2 separate regions of the Homo sapiens genome follow, and region 2 is linked to region 1. The links are contacts of gene promoters, found by promoter capture Hi-C in blood cells and fetal thymus (Javierre and others, 2016). All regions are on one chromosome and are shown on one strand. Each heading gives the region's core, a stretch centred on a gene start or on the middle of the fragment in contact. The rest is flanking DNA. Distances are from core to core; before and after follow the strand shown. Region 1 holds the start of RAB13 (RAB13, member RAS oncogene family). Region 2 has its middle 4.2 kb from the start of S100A9.

Region 1 (7,241 bases), core at 2,764-5,263:
CACACACACATACATACACACACACACACCCCAGAGTTGTACCTAGTCCAGCAAAACCAACTTACTGATCTCCGGCCTCCTGACTTGAGCAAGATGTCCCGGGCCAGGGAACTAAAAGCCTAAAGTGGGGAACAGAGTCAGTTTGGAGGGAGGAGAATCTACCTTCTAATACTTCCTCTCTTGGTCGGGGATGGGGGTGTGGATCTCACCTCATCCACATTCATACTGGATTTAGCACTAGTTTCGAAAAATCGGATTCCATGCTCTCGAGCCAACTATAAGGGGTGAAGTGGGAAGAGAATTGAATTAAGGACAGCAGCCAAGTCCTCTGCAATGCAACCTATCTTGGCCCTCCCAGCCCAGTTCTAGAACATTGCTCAGCCTGGCCCTCACCTTATCGGCCTGCTCCTTCTGCACCTTCCTCTTGGCCTCCATGTCACATTTGTTCCCCAGCAAGAGGCGCTCCACCCCAGCCGAGGCATTCTGGGGGCAAAAGACAAGTAAAAGTTAGGTCCTGCCGGCTGGGAGCGGTGGCTCACGCCTGTAATCCCAGCACTTTGGGAGGCCAAGGCGGGTGGATCACCTGATGCAGGAGTTCAAGATCAGCCTGACCAACATGGAGAAAACCCGTCTCTACTAAAAATGCAAAATTAGCCGAGCATGGTGGTGCATGCCTGTAATCCCAGCTACTTGGGAGGCTGAGGCAGGAAAATCGTTTGAACCTGGGAGGCAGAGGTTGCAGTGAGCCGAGATCCTGCCATTGCACTCCAGCCCGGGCAACAAGAGCAAAACTTCATCTCAAAAAAAAAAAAGTTAGGTCTTGCCTATCCTGATGGACCCCTTCATTCTCCAGGTTCTAACCAGTTTCCCCATCTCTTTTGGAGGGTCCTCACCTCCTTGATGCTTTTCATCCAGTTCTGAATATTCTCGAAAGATTTCTCATCCGTGATGTCGTATACTAGGATAATGCCCTGGGAGATGACAAAATTCACCTTGGACCATGTTCCCATTGAGGCTTCCCACTGCCCTGTAAGTGACCCCGCATCCATGGGTCTAAACACTAGGCCATGTTGGGCCCTCTGCAACCCACACTGCACCCCTCCCATTTTTACCTGCCCCAACCCCTGACCCTTTGTATTCATAATATATTCTGTAGCCTCATCCTTCATCCTTTGTTCAGACCCACACTTCATACCATGGCTCCACGGTAGTAGGCAGTAGTTATTGTCTTGAACCGCTCTTGGCCAGCCGTGTCCCTAAAGAAGGAGAAGTTTTCATGGGATGGAATAGAGGGAAGAATTCTCCAACGGAATAATTCTTCCTCTCTCACAAGAATTTAGCTTTTGTAACATGGTGGGGCAACAGAATAAGGAAACAGTAAAGGGGAACGGGATTAAAGACAGTTGAGCTGATTTCCAGAGATGGTAGTGGCCCAAGAAACAAGATGTCTTTGCTTATTCATTGAATGTTTGCTATGTGTCAAGCACTGTGTATGTATCATTTTATCTAATCCTTACTCTTTCCTTGTAAGACATGTATTATTGTCTCTATTTTAAAAATGAGGAAACACGCCAGGTGCCGTGGCTTGCGTCTATAATCCCAACACTTTGGGAGGCTGAGGCGGGTGGATCACCTGAGGTCAGGAGTTCAAGACCAGCCTGGCCAACATGGTGAAACCTCGTCTCTACTAAAAATACAAAAATTAGCCCGGCCTAGTGGCGGGCGCCTGTAATCCCAGCTACTTGGGAGGCTGAGGTCGGAGAATCACTTGAACCCAGGAGGCGGAGGTTAAAGTGAGCCTAGATTGTGCCATTGCACTCCAGCCTGGGTGACAAGAGCAAAACTCTGTCTCAAAAAAAAAAAAAAAAAAAAAAGAGGAAACAGATTTGGATAGGCTGAATAATTAATGAAGGTCAGGCAGGAGATAACTAAAAGAACCAGATTTGCGCACCAGTCTGCTCTTATATGTCATAGCATAATGCCTCCACTAAGCTTCATACCACTTAAACACCTTCAGGGTCTATATTTGGCTCTCTGGGCTCACCATATTTTGGAGAAAACACTAGACTTAGAGTCAAGTCTTAATTCTGCCTTTGCCATTTAACTGCTCACAGCCTGTTTCCATGTTATGACTGAACAGTTGTTTGTTGTCAAATTAAGAGGATGCTCTGCAGCCAGAGGAGGCAAGAGTTACAAAAGAGTTGGAACTAGTTGGGAGAGCAGGAAGAGAGATGGAAGGACAGCTGAGTGCATCCGGAGAAATGCCAGAAGTGCTCCTTCTAGCACTTCTAGAAGGAGCAATGGGGAAAGGAAGAGAAATGAAACAAAATAGAAGGAAAAACGTGTAGGAGGTAAATGGGGAAGTCTGGCGAGGCATCCCAGAGGACTGACTTACCAGACTTGTAGTTTGATCTTCTTCCCCTCTATATCCACAGTGCGGATCTTGAAATCAATTCCTAGGGGTGGAAGGTATGCACTGAAGTTGAGACATGCATGCACACATGTAAAACTGTGTGATGGAAGGGACAGGAACGGAGCAGTGCTGGCACCAGAAATTCTGCAGGGGAGGCACTTGGGGAACAATCTTGTTGGAAATGCCAAGCTAGGAGAATTTTCCCAAAGCTGTATTTGTATAGCAAGAATACTATTTTTACGTACATTTTATGGATTTTGGGAGGGAAAAGGTGACGAAAATTCTGCATGGAGGCTTAAAATCCTTAGGCTGCCTCTTGGGTCCATTCAGTTATACCAGCTGACAACTCTCTGAATTCAGTCTCTGTCTCCCCCCAGATATTACTTTCACATTCCTCTTCTCTGTTTTCTTAGAGCCCTCTACTCTTGGTATCCCACCTACCCTCCTAGTAGAGAGTAAGGAAAAAAGTAGCTGAAGCCAGTCTATGTGAATTAACTAGTGGGCCAAACTTGGCACTAGGAAAGTCTGAGGCTAAACAGGATTACTTTTGAGACAATTAGGAAAGAGGGGCATTTTTCCTTTTCCTTTGTAACCAGAATTGTCGTGAGACTCTTCCTGTCTATTTCCCAAGCCAGAGGAGATGAAGAAAGAAGAGAAGGGAGGAGGGGAGACAATGTTCTTCTTAGTAGAAACTTGGGCACCTCCCCCAAGCCTGCTGGGGGCCCCTGGGAGGAGGATGAGTCACCAGGCTGACTCAGAGACCCCAAAAGTCCCCTCATTTCCACGTTCCTCACCAAGCTGGCTGCATATTCATGATCACAGTCCTTGGGCCACCCTCCAGCACACCCAGCCACCTTGTTCCACCCTTCCCAAACCCTTGTTCAGCTGAGGTGCAGGGAGACTGGGGCAGGGAACCTGGGAAGTAGATGGTGAGGTGGGGACACAGTGGGAGAGTTTGAAGCTCAGCAAGACAGAAAGAGGCTAGCATCGGATCGGGAGAAAAAGATGTGGCGGACAGGGATACAGGAAACATGGAGATAGGATCGAGAGAGTTCTAGGTGGTGGGGGTAGGGGAAGAGGGGAACAGAGAAAAATAGAGAAGAGTTCTTGTGGATTTGGGGAGACTAAGGCGATGGTACCAAGAAAATGAGGAGCTGGCAGCAGTTGAAGAGTTACCTGAAGGCCTCAGAGAGGTGAGAGGTTTGGTTACTATACAGAGACATGCACGGGGGAAGGGTCAGAGCCAGGGGTTGAGGGACTAGAATTTAGGAGCCTTACTCTAAGGGGACTGAAAAGTGGGGTCACTAGTAATCCGGGAGCCGGAGAAGGAGGTCACAGGAGAGTCGGGGTCTGGGACATGGCCAGCGGGCTCACCGATGGTGGAGATGTAAGTGTTGTTGAAGTTGTCCTCTGCAAAGCGAATGATCAGACAAGTCTTGCCCACCCCCGAGTCCCCGATCAGCAGCAACTTGAAGAGGTGGTCGTAGGCTTTGGCCATGGCGGACACCGGGGGAGCCGGGGGAGGGGTGGGGAGCGCCCGGCACTGGTAGGCGGGACTGGACGGTTGGCAAACAGAGCGGCACGGAGCCCAGGCCAGGAAGAAGTTTTCCTCCCTCTCCGCCCAGGCTCCGGGAAAGAGGAGAGGCGGCACCCCTCCGGGCTCCACCCCCTGCCCGCCCACCCTTTTGAGCAGGCCAAGGCTGCCAGCCCGGCCTCTGTTCTCTCGGTTTTCCCTTCCTAGCTTAGGCCGGCCTGTCTCTCTCGCTATTTTCCACAGCCTTTCGGTAATTGTAGCTCCCCTCTTAGGACCTTACTCTTCCATTCTGAGGCCAGAGAGGCTGGGGTGAAGGGAAGTAGAGGTTTAACCACGACGACCAGAAATTTTAGAAGAGAAATTTTAGAGGGATTAGGGGAAGAGAACCAAGAGTTTTGGGAATAAGGGTGAAGGTAGGGAGAGCACTAGAAATTGAAAAAAAAAAATGGGGCTGAGTTTTGGAGATGCTATTCAACGAAGCTAGAAGATGAGTTATCATCGGTTTCTGGGGCTGAGTAAAAGGCAGTCCTAGAATTTTACTGTTAGTTGTCCAAGCCCTTAGTTCTATGGGTCCCAATTCACTTTGAAAAAAGCGGGATGCGCAGAAGTAGGTTATTTGTTGAGTCAGTCTGCCCCCTGGTGGAACAGGGTGAAAACGTAAATTAGTTATACAGAATCGGCCCCACCACCCCAACACACACAGCCTACCTAGACACATCCTGGGGCTTCAGTTGGAACGATCTCTCTTATGGGGACCCATGTGTGATTTCTCTGACCAAATAGCTTAGGAAAACAGAGATTTGAACTAAAAATGTCATTCTTTACGTGAATCTTTTAATATGGCCCACTTAAGGTGCAGTACTCCTGAAATCTCACTCAATAGGCCATGAATGTGTAGCCTTGGTAACCAGGAAGCTGAAATATGAACAGCACGGGTATAAAGAAACAAGTTTGCCGGGCGCGGTGGCTCACGCCTGTAATCCCAGCACTTTGGGAGGCCGAGGCGGGCGGATCACGAGGTCAGGAGATCGAGACCATCCTGGCTAACATGGTGAAACCCCATCTCTACTAAAAATACACACACACACACAAAATTAGCCGGGCGTGGTGGCAGGCGACTGTAGTCCTAGCCACTTGGGAGGCTGAGGCAGGAGAATGGCGTGAACCCGGGAGGCAGAGCTTGCAGTGAGCCGAGATTGCGCCACTGCACTCCAGCTTGGGCGACAGAGCCAGACTCCGTCTCAAAAAAAAAAAAAAAAGAAAGAAAGAAAGAGAGTAAAAGAGAAACAAGTTTATCTCTGCCTTTAGAAAAAAATTATTCTTGCTATATGTGTGCTGGGGGTGGAAAAAAATACGAAACACGAAAGAAAGAAAATATTATCTAAGACCTGTTGCGGTGGCTCACACTTGTAATCCCAGCACTTTGGGAGGCCAACGTGAGAGGATCCCTTAAGCCCAGGAGTTCAAGACCAGCTTGGGCAACATAGTGAGACTGCTTCGACAAAAAAAAAAAAAAAAAAAAAAAAAAATTAGCCATACATGGTGGTGTGGCCTGTAGTCCCAGCCGCAGCTACTTGGGGGACAGAAGTGGGCAGAACACTTGAGCCCAAGAGTCCAAGGCTGTAGTGAGCCACGATTATGATGCCACTGCTCTCCAGCCTCGGTGATAGAGTAAGATCCTGTTTCAAAAAAATTTTTTATTTATTTTTTAATTAATTAATTAATTTTTTTGAGACAGAGTCTTGCTCTGTCGCCAGGCTGGAGTGCAGTGGCGCAATCTCGGCTCACTGCAACCTCCGCCTCCCGAATTCAAGCGATTCTTGTGCCTCAGCCTCTGGAGTACCTGTAATCCTCTGGGATTACAGGTGCCCGACACCACGCCCAGCTAATTTTTGTATTTTTAGTAGAGATGGGGTTTCACCATGTTGGCCAGATGGTCTCGATCTCTTGACCTTCTGATCCGCCCGCCTCGGCCTCCCAAAGTGCTGGGATTACAGTCGTGAGCCACCACGCCTGGCCCTATTTTTTTTTTTTTTTTGAGACGGAGTCTTGCTCTGTCGACCTAGGCTGGGGTGCAGTGGCGCGATCTCGGTTCACTGCAAGCTCCGCCTCCTGGGTTCACGCCATTCTCCCGCCTCAGCCTCCTGAGTAGCTGGGACTACAGGCGCCCGCCACCACCCGGCTAATTTTTTGTATTTTAGGGAGAGACGGGGTTTCACCGTGTTAGCCAGGATGGTTTTGATCTCCTGACCTCGTGATCTGCCCGCCTTGGCCTCCCAAAGTGCTGGGTTTACAGGCGTAAGCCACCGCGCCCGGCCTATTTTTATTTTTATTTTTTTAATTTTTATTGTTTATTTTGAGGTGGAGTTTCGCTCTTGTTGCGTAGGCTGGGGTGCAATGGTGTGATCTGGGCTAACCGCAGCTTCCGCCTCCCTGGTTCAAGCGATTCTCCTGCCTCAGCCTCGCGAGTAGCTGAAATTACAGACACCCGCACTACCCCCTGCTAATTTTGTATTTTTAGTAGAGACGAGCTTTCTCCATGTTGGTCAGGCTGCTCTCGAACTCCCGACCTCAGGTGATCCACCCACCTCTGCCTCCCAAAGGCCTGGGATTACAGGCGTGAGCCACTGCGCCCAACCTTTGTTTTTACTTTTATTTTATTTTTTGAGACAAAGTTTTGCTCGTCACCCAGGCAGAAGTGCAATGGCTCAATCTCTGGTCACTGCAACCTCCGCCTCTTGGGTTCAAGCGATTCTCCAGCCTCAGCTTCCCGAGTAGCTGGGATTACAGGCGCCTGCCACGACGCCCAGCTAAATTTTTTTTTTTTTTTTTTTTTTTTAGTCGAGACGGGGTTTCACCATGTTGGCCACGCTGGTCTCGAACTCCCGACGTCACGTGATCCGCCCGCCTCAGCCTCCCAAAGTGCTGGGATTACAGGCCTGAGCCACCGCGACCGGCAAAGAAAAAATTATTATTATTATTATTATTATTATTTGAGACGGAGTCTCGCTCTGTCGCCCAGGCTGCAGTGCAGCGGCGCGATCTCCGCTCACTGCAAGCTCCGCCTCCCGGGTTCACGCCATTCTCCTGTCTCAGCCTCCCGAGTAGCTGGGACTACAGGCGCCCGCCACCGCGCCCGGCTAATTTTTTGTATTTTTAGTAGAGGCGGGGTTTCACCGTGCTAGCCAGGATGGTCTCGATCTCCTAACCTCGTGATCCACCCGCCTCGGCCTCCCAAAGTGCTGGGATTACAGGCGTGAGCCACGGCGCCCGGGCAAGAAAAAATTATTCAAG
Region 2 (7,241 bases), core at 1,795-4,294, 630 kb before region 1:
TGTCCCTCTCTGATTCTGTGAACTCAGAATCCCGAGAGGACCTCCTAAGTCCTAAATTATCTGGCCCCCAGCCCCATCTCACTCCACGCTGCCAGAGCAGGCTCCCAGTGCTCTCTGCCCCACCTCCCACCATCTCAAGACCCTTCCCAAGTGCCCAGCCTCGCTCCCCACCTGCGCCCAGAGGCTCCACTTCAGCCTGGCATCTTTGGAAAGGGCTCCGTGACTAGTTGGGACTGGTAGAGGCTCAGAGTCTCTCTTCTCCATTCTAGCACCTGAATGAATTGTAATTATAATCTCCTCAAGAGCAGTTCCCAAGTCTATCTCTTTACCTGCCTTTAATACTATCATTATTTATATTTACATTTTTTTGTCCTCTGTCTTAAGCCTCCCTCCAGCTGTGAATTTCACAGAAGTGGGAATTTACTTTATTCTGTAGTCTCAGGGTTTAGCTTAGTGTCTGGCATAATGCTGACACATGTTAGAAACTCAATAAGCATTTGTCAGATAAAGAAGGAAGGAAGGGAGGGAGGGAGGGAGGGAGAGAGAGAGAGGGAGAGAGAGAGAAAGAAAGAAAGAAAGGAAAGAAAGAAAGAAAAAAGAAAGAAAGAAAGAGAGAAAGAAAGAAAGAAAGAAAGAAAGAAAAAAGAAAGAAAGAAAGAGAGAAAGAAAGAAAGACTTAAACAGGACACTCTTTTAAAAGGTGTCAAAAGAAGAAATGGAAAGGAAAAGCAAGCCAGCACACCGACCTGCCTCAAATAATGCATACCTTCAAGTACCTAAGGCAGTGGTTCTCAAAAAGTGGCCCAGGGGAAACTGGGGGACCCCAAGACCCCTTGGGGGGGTCCATGAGATCAAAACTAATTCCAGAACAATATTCTCTGAACTTCCCACCACAGGAAACTGCCCACAAACCAAGACTCCCGGCTCCTCACTTTCCTCACTGTGCTGATATTTGCACTGATGACACAAAAACAATGGTAGAAAAAACCGTTAGAGACATGAACCTATGTGTGGCGTCAGACTGCACTAGCAGTCATTGTATTCTTCACAATGTATTCTTTCAAGAAAAGGAGGCTCACTTAGGAATGTTTTTGATGAAGCAGTGAAAATTACTCATTTTATTAAATCTCAACCCTGATTCTCTCAAGGAAAAGCATTTGTGTGCTACAGTTGTGAGCTGAACCAGCCACTTTTCATGGACGCCGTGAACAAATAACATAGAACAAATGATAGCCAAACTATGGATACTCATATTTGGGTATGCGGCATACATTTTCTTGAAAATTAACAAAGTGAGCCTTTCACTTCCGGGAAAACAACTACAATTTGTTAGCATAATAAAATTGGAGCTTTCAGTCAAAAATTTGAATTTTGGAAAATTTGTGTCTGCCACCATGAGTTTGACAGCTTCCCAATATTTGAAGACTACTGACAGGATCAGTGGTGATATTAACAAATGTGGTGGGGCTTTTTTGCTTTTTTTGTTTTGTTTTGTTTTGTTTGTTTTTGAGACGGAATCTATCTCTGTCGCCCAGGCTGGAATTCAGTGGCATGATCTCTGCTCGCTGCAACCTCTGCCTCCCGGGTTCAAGTGATTCTCCTGCCTCAGTGTCCCAAGTAGCTGAGACTACAGGCATGTGCTACCACACATGGCTAATTTTTTGTATTTTTAGTAGAGATGGTGTTTCATAGTGTTAGCCAGGATGGTCTCGATCTCCTGACCTCATGATCTGCCCGCCTCAGCCTCCCAAAGTGCTGGGATTACAGGCGTGAGCCACCACGCCCGGCCAAATGTGGTTTATTTATATGTGTGTGTGATATATATAAATATGTATATATAGAGAGTAATAAATGATGTCAGCATTTAGAAGACGTACATAACTCAGTCAACCAATATTTTCCAAATGATCAATATATGAAGTCACAAAGTTTGGATAAAAGATCCATTAAATTTTAAGAGGGACCAATTGATTCTAATGTAACAGAGAACAAATAATTCATTGATATGGTTTCAGACTTTACGTTGCAACTAACCTTTGAGAAACCATCACTTGTTGGGTTTTGATGTAATATGAGAGAAGAATATCCACAATTATATATTTAAAGGCTATTAATGTATTCATCCCCTTTGCAACTACTTATCTGTGGGAGATTGGATTTTCTTCAAATCTTCAACCAAAGCAACATACAGCAATACCTTGTATGCAGAAGTAGATGTGATAAACCAGCTGTCTTCTTTGAAGCCATACAGTAAAAAGGTCTGCAAAAATGTGAAAAAAAAACACTCTTCTCACTAGCTTTTGACATATATATATAATTATTTTTAATTGTTTAAAAACGTGGTAATACGTAATGTGTTTATTAATGGTACTTTAAGTGAGTTAATAAATCATTTTAAATTTTTTAAACTTTTAATGTAGTAAATACTGATACATCTAATCCACAAAAGCTCTTTGGGATACTCAATAACTTCTATGAATACATATAAAAGGGTCCAGAGAGCAAAAAGATTAAAAACCTGGGGCCAAAGGAATCCCACAGGCTGTCCTGATGCAGATAGGCCACAAGGTGGCAGCATGCGCCCTCTGATAACTCCGGAGTCACCTTTCACTCACTAGGAGTCTCTGAGCAACCTCTTTTATCCATCACTCCCTTCCACTTCCTTCCTTACCTTCATGCTTCTGTGTGGCACGTCTTTTTTTTTTCTAACTAGCTTTATCCACCAACGCCTTCATAATTACAGGGCATAGCCATCTCCTAAGCATAAGTTCTGGCCAAACCAAGCCAGTCATTCATTTTATTCTGCAAACATTTGTCAGGTGTCACTCATATGCAAAGCTTATCATCCAGGGATGAGTACATTGAGAACACTGCTCTCAAGTAGTTAATAATATAATGAGGGAGACAGATCCAAACGCCAGTGATTATAATGCCTGCTGAGTGTGAAAACCCTTTATTCTTTACAAAGGGCTGTGGACTTCAAAGGGAGTCCTGAGAGCAGAGGATGCCAAAAGCCAGATGCTGAGATACTCGCCAAAAATTTCTGCAGAGATCTGGAACCTAGGGACATAGTGAGCGCAAAAGCCAGGTTCCCAAGAGATCGGGGAGGAGAAAGGGTTGGAGCAACAGAAGCCAGGCAACAAAAGGGAATGCCAGCTTTCTCAATTTTGAAGGTGGCATGTCTGAGAAATTAGGAGGATGATGAGCAGAGGCAGCCAAGGTGGAGACAGGGGGAGAGGTCCAGACTTGGGGAAGCTTAGGTTGAATGTCTAAGAAGCCAGATCATTGGAGGGTCCTCACTGTGGATGCTGGAGCAGCCCAGCATGGGGGCAGGGAGTGCGGCTGCTCTCAGCAGAGGGCCTCAGAGACCTCAGGATGGCCAGTCAAGGGAGGCCACAAGGATGCCAGGGGTGGTCAAAGCTTGATGTGGACTGAGCCCAAACGTGGTAGAACAATGGTCTGAAGCTACCCGTGGATAGCTTCTGTAAGTCATCCTAATGCACTAGAGTCTAGAATGAGCACTGGGGAAATGGGGGATGTTAGGGCGCTTGTGGTTAGGAGACCCGTACCCAGAGATCTCCAAGGAAGAGCACTTGGGACTCCCAGCAAGGAGGAAGACAGGGAGTGGAGGAATAGGCAGCAGGCTGTGCGCAGCCTGAGTGGGGCTGGGCCTCAGGCATCAGAGTCCCTGTGAGGAGAGGGACCTGACTTCACCTGCAGGTGGAGCAAGTAAGCCAGGAGACAGTGTCCAGGGGCCATGAGGCTAGTAGTAGTCATGAAGCCCACCAAGAGTCCATCAAAACTTGGAATCTGTGCTAGAAATGACCTAAGGGTCAGCTGTCCCAATCTCCTCATGTAATGGATAAGAAAATGGAGGCCCGAACATGGAAATCACTTCTAAAGACCACCAGCAAGTCTGAGAAAGCTAAGGACTAAAACCAGCTCAGTCCCTCAGTCCGGGTCCCACTGTGTGCCTGCTGTAACACCCCCATTACAACACAGGAGGGGTAAAGCTCCCTGAAAGACCACAGTGGGAGCTGCAGAGAAGGGAAAGACAGACCCGCAGTGGGTCCCAGGCATCTGGGAAAGAGCACAGTGATTTGATGGTAGCTGCAGGAACCTCTGCCTGCTTGTTTGTTTACTTGCTTGGTTGTTTGTTTGTTTGAAATGGAGTCTCACCCTGCCACCCAGGCCAGAGTGCAATGGCGCGATCTTGGCTCACTGCAACCTCTGCCTCCCAGGTTCAAGCGGTTCTCCTACCTCAGCCTCCTGAGTAGCTGGGATTACAGGTGCGCACCACCACACCCGGCTAATTTTTTGTATCTTTAGTAAAGATGGAGGTTTCACCATGTTGGCCATGCTAGTCTCGAACTCCTGACCTTGTGATCCACCCGCCTCGTGCTCCCAAAGTGCTGGGATTACAGGCGTGAGCCACCGTGCCCGGCCACTTATTTGTTTTTTAACCCAAAAAGCCACACCCTTTTCTCCCAGTGAAAACCTCGAGTCATTGTACAGAGCCAGGAAAATTGGCCCACCCACTTCATGCCCTAGCAGAAGGCTCCGACTTTCCCTGGAAAATCAGTACCCAGAGGGGAAGACCCCCATCCCACCATCCCTCAGTCCAACCTCTGGCCTCGGCTGGCAGTGAGGAGGCAGGTGGGTGTCGGCCACCTACTGATCATGCCAGGAATTGTCTGCTCCGGTCAGAACCAGAATGGCTCAGCCCTGGCCTCACCTGCGCCTGGGCTAGCCTGGAACCTGGGGGCCTGCAGTGGCCTTCTAAGATGGGGGCCCACTGTCAGCATCAGATCCCCCAAGTGCAGATTCCCGTCTGTTTTGAAACCCTGACCAGCTGCTCATTCCCACCCACTGCTGAGCCTTCTCTCCCCCAACTCCCTATTTTACTTTCATTCTGAATCAGCACTAAATGACCACAGTCAGTGGCTCTGCAGAAAGTCACAGAACAGAGGGTGACAGGCCAGTGTTTATGTCACATTCACTCATTTCATCATTGATTCATGCACTCCTGAATTTATTCAATCAACAAGCGTTCATCCAGTGCCTCTGAGCCAGCCCTTGCCTGGTGCTAAGACTTTGGAGGGTAGCAGGCAGCATCCCTGCCTAGAGGAGCCACAGTGGTGTGGAGGAATCAGAAAGTCCACCTGAAAGTTGAGAGCTCCATGACAAAGCAGAGATGCCTGCCGCACACCATCACTCAGGGTTTGAGTCACACACACCCTGCTTCATTGTCATGCTTTTTTTGTTTTTATTTTAAATTAATGGACAAATTGTATTAAACAGGAATTTTCATATAAAGCTTCAGATGTCCTGGGCCCTCAGGAGGTCCAAGAACATCTGGTCTACTTTCCCACGTGGCAGCCCTGGCCTGACACTGGCTGTCCCTTCAAGGTAGGAACGTTCTCATTCCCCACAGTTGCCACCACTGTCCAGTGTCCCCAACCCTGAGGCCCCATATCAGTGGCCACAAGTTGCCCTACTGCTGCCGTTGATGTTCTCATGCCCCACCAGCTTCACCTTGGGTCTGGTTCCCGCAAGGGTGAGTTGGAGATCCTTGGTCCTGAGTGAGAAGTGCTTTGTCAGAGGCAGCAGAGGGCGCCATGGGAGCACACAGGAAGGGCGCCTGGGGCTGTGCAGGGACTGCAGAACAGGCTGCACTGGCACACAGGGTTGGCTGCTGGCTGCTGGCTGCTGGCTGCTGGCTGGGTTTCCTCTATTAGCTTAAACAATGGAAGGTGGACTTGGATAGGAAATCTACCTCATGTATTCCTGAGCTGTGTCTGCACCGTTCATTCATTCGTAGGCGACTCATGTATTCAAGCACTCATTTATTTATTAGATGCTTGCTGTGTGCTTAGCACTGTGCCAAGCCCTGTCCTTAGCTACCAAGAGTTTAAAACGTAATTTGGAAGACAGGATATAAGATTATGTCTCCCCTTTGTATTGCGACTCACTCATCAAGTTCTCCCAGCATCTAGCATTCATATCTGGCACTCAGTAGGTGCTCAACAAATATTTGTTGCATAAATGAATGAAAAGATTATTAGTAATAATACCTTTTATTTACTGAGCTCTTCCCAACTTTCCATGTATTGTCGCAATCCTCAAGGTAAGTCCTGATATTATCCTATTTTATTGATAAGAAAAGTAAGGCACAGAGAAGTTAAGTAAACTGCCTAAGGTCACACAGACAGTCTGAAGTCTTAACCACTACTCCAGGTGCATCTCAGCAGTGTGAGGCAGGCCATGCTTAGGGCCAATGCTTAGCACACACAGAGATTGCCTCAGGCTTTCAGAGGACAAAGCAGTCAGGAGGGGCTGGGGCAATAAAGGAAGGCTTCATGGAGACAGAACAAAATAACCAGTGCAGGTAGAAGAAGAGAACCATCTTTCCTGATAGAGAGAGGGGGCAGCAAGCAAGAGGGAGTCCCAGGGTGGATCATCCATACTGGCTTCCAGGGGTGACGGGAAAGGATGCCAGCAAGGACTTCAGCAAGGATCAATCAGCAAATCCGAGGGTGTCTCTCTTGCCAAGCCCCGGGCTGTGTGCATAGGAGAAGGAGAACATGAATGAGAACCTACCTTTGAGGATCTACAGCCAATTGTTGGACAGAGGCAAAATATGTATATAATTTTACTCCAGGAAAGCAAGTGTTGAGAGCCAGAAGTGGTATGAGAATCATAGTCAGGAAGACAGAAACTGTTTCCAAATGGGAAGCACAGAGCAGTCTCCTTGGAAGAGAGTGCATTAGAACTGAGCCGTGGGGGCGGGCAGGATATCACTGTGGAGTAGGGGAAGGGCACTCCTGGGGTGGCAAGGTGGGAGGTGGGCCCTGTGTTCCCACAGTGGGCAGGGAGGTAGTGAAAGGGAAGCTGGCCGGACAGGCAGGGCCATTCCAAGAGGGCTTTGTGCGCAGGGCTAAGCCAAGCTTTCTCCATAGGCAATGGGGAGCAACTGGAGGTTCGTAGCAGGAGAAGGACACATCTTGCCCACCAGGAGGCTAAGTAAAAACAGTTGTCTCCCAAGTTATAAGTTCCTGGAACCCTTGCTGGGAGCAGGATTTAGAAAAATGATGCTGAGAGATGCTAGAAACATATTCGCCCTGAGGCTCTCTCACTCAGACTGCAAGAGGAAGGTATCATCAGAATTGCCCTTAACCAGGAACCAGAATAGCTGGGTCCCCTTCCTGCCAAGTCAGCAACCAGCTATGTGACCTTGCTCA

Evidence for each region. Contacts are between HindIII fragments. The CHiCAGO score rates a contact against its expected background, and 5 or more counts as called.
Region 2: a contact is called between a fragment that was not itself captured here and the fragment with the promoter of RAB13 in region 1, in 1 of 17 cell types (erythroblasts). The highest score is 5.9, in erythroblasts.

The regions. Positions count from the first base shown.
Region 1 is chr1:153,982,326-153,989,566 of GRCh38, forward strand. RAB13 (RAB13, member RAS oncogene family) reads right to left here and starts at 4,014. Exons shown (of 8, transcript NM_002870.5): 1 at 3,788-4,014; 2 at 2,396-2,456; 3 at 1,196-1,256; 4 at 894-971; 5 at 394-483; 6 at 210-275; 7 at 66-119. The coding sequence starts at 3,911. RefSeq lists enhancers at 3,073-3,302, 3,616-4,117 and a silencer at 3,929-4,098. The HindIII fragment of the contact is 17,219 bases long and covers 1,991-7,241 here.
Region 2 is chr1:153,350,054-153,357,294 of GRCh38, forward strand. No RefSeq gene overlaps it. Among named protein-coding and RNA genes, the nearest start is that of S100A9, 4.2 kb to the right of the region's middle. RefSeq lists silencers at 2,623-2,672, 3,698-3,747. The HindIII fragment of the contact is 417 bases long and covers 2,837-3,253 here.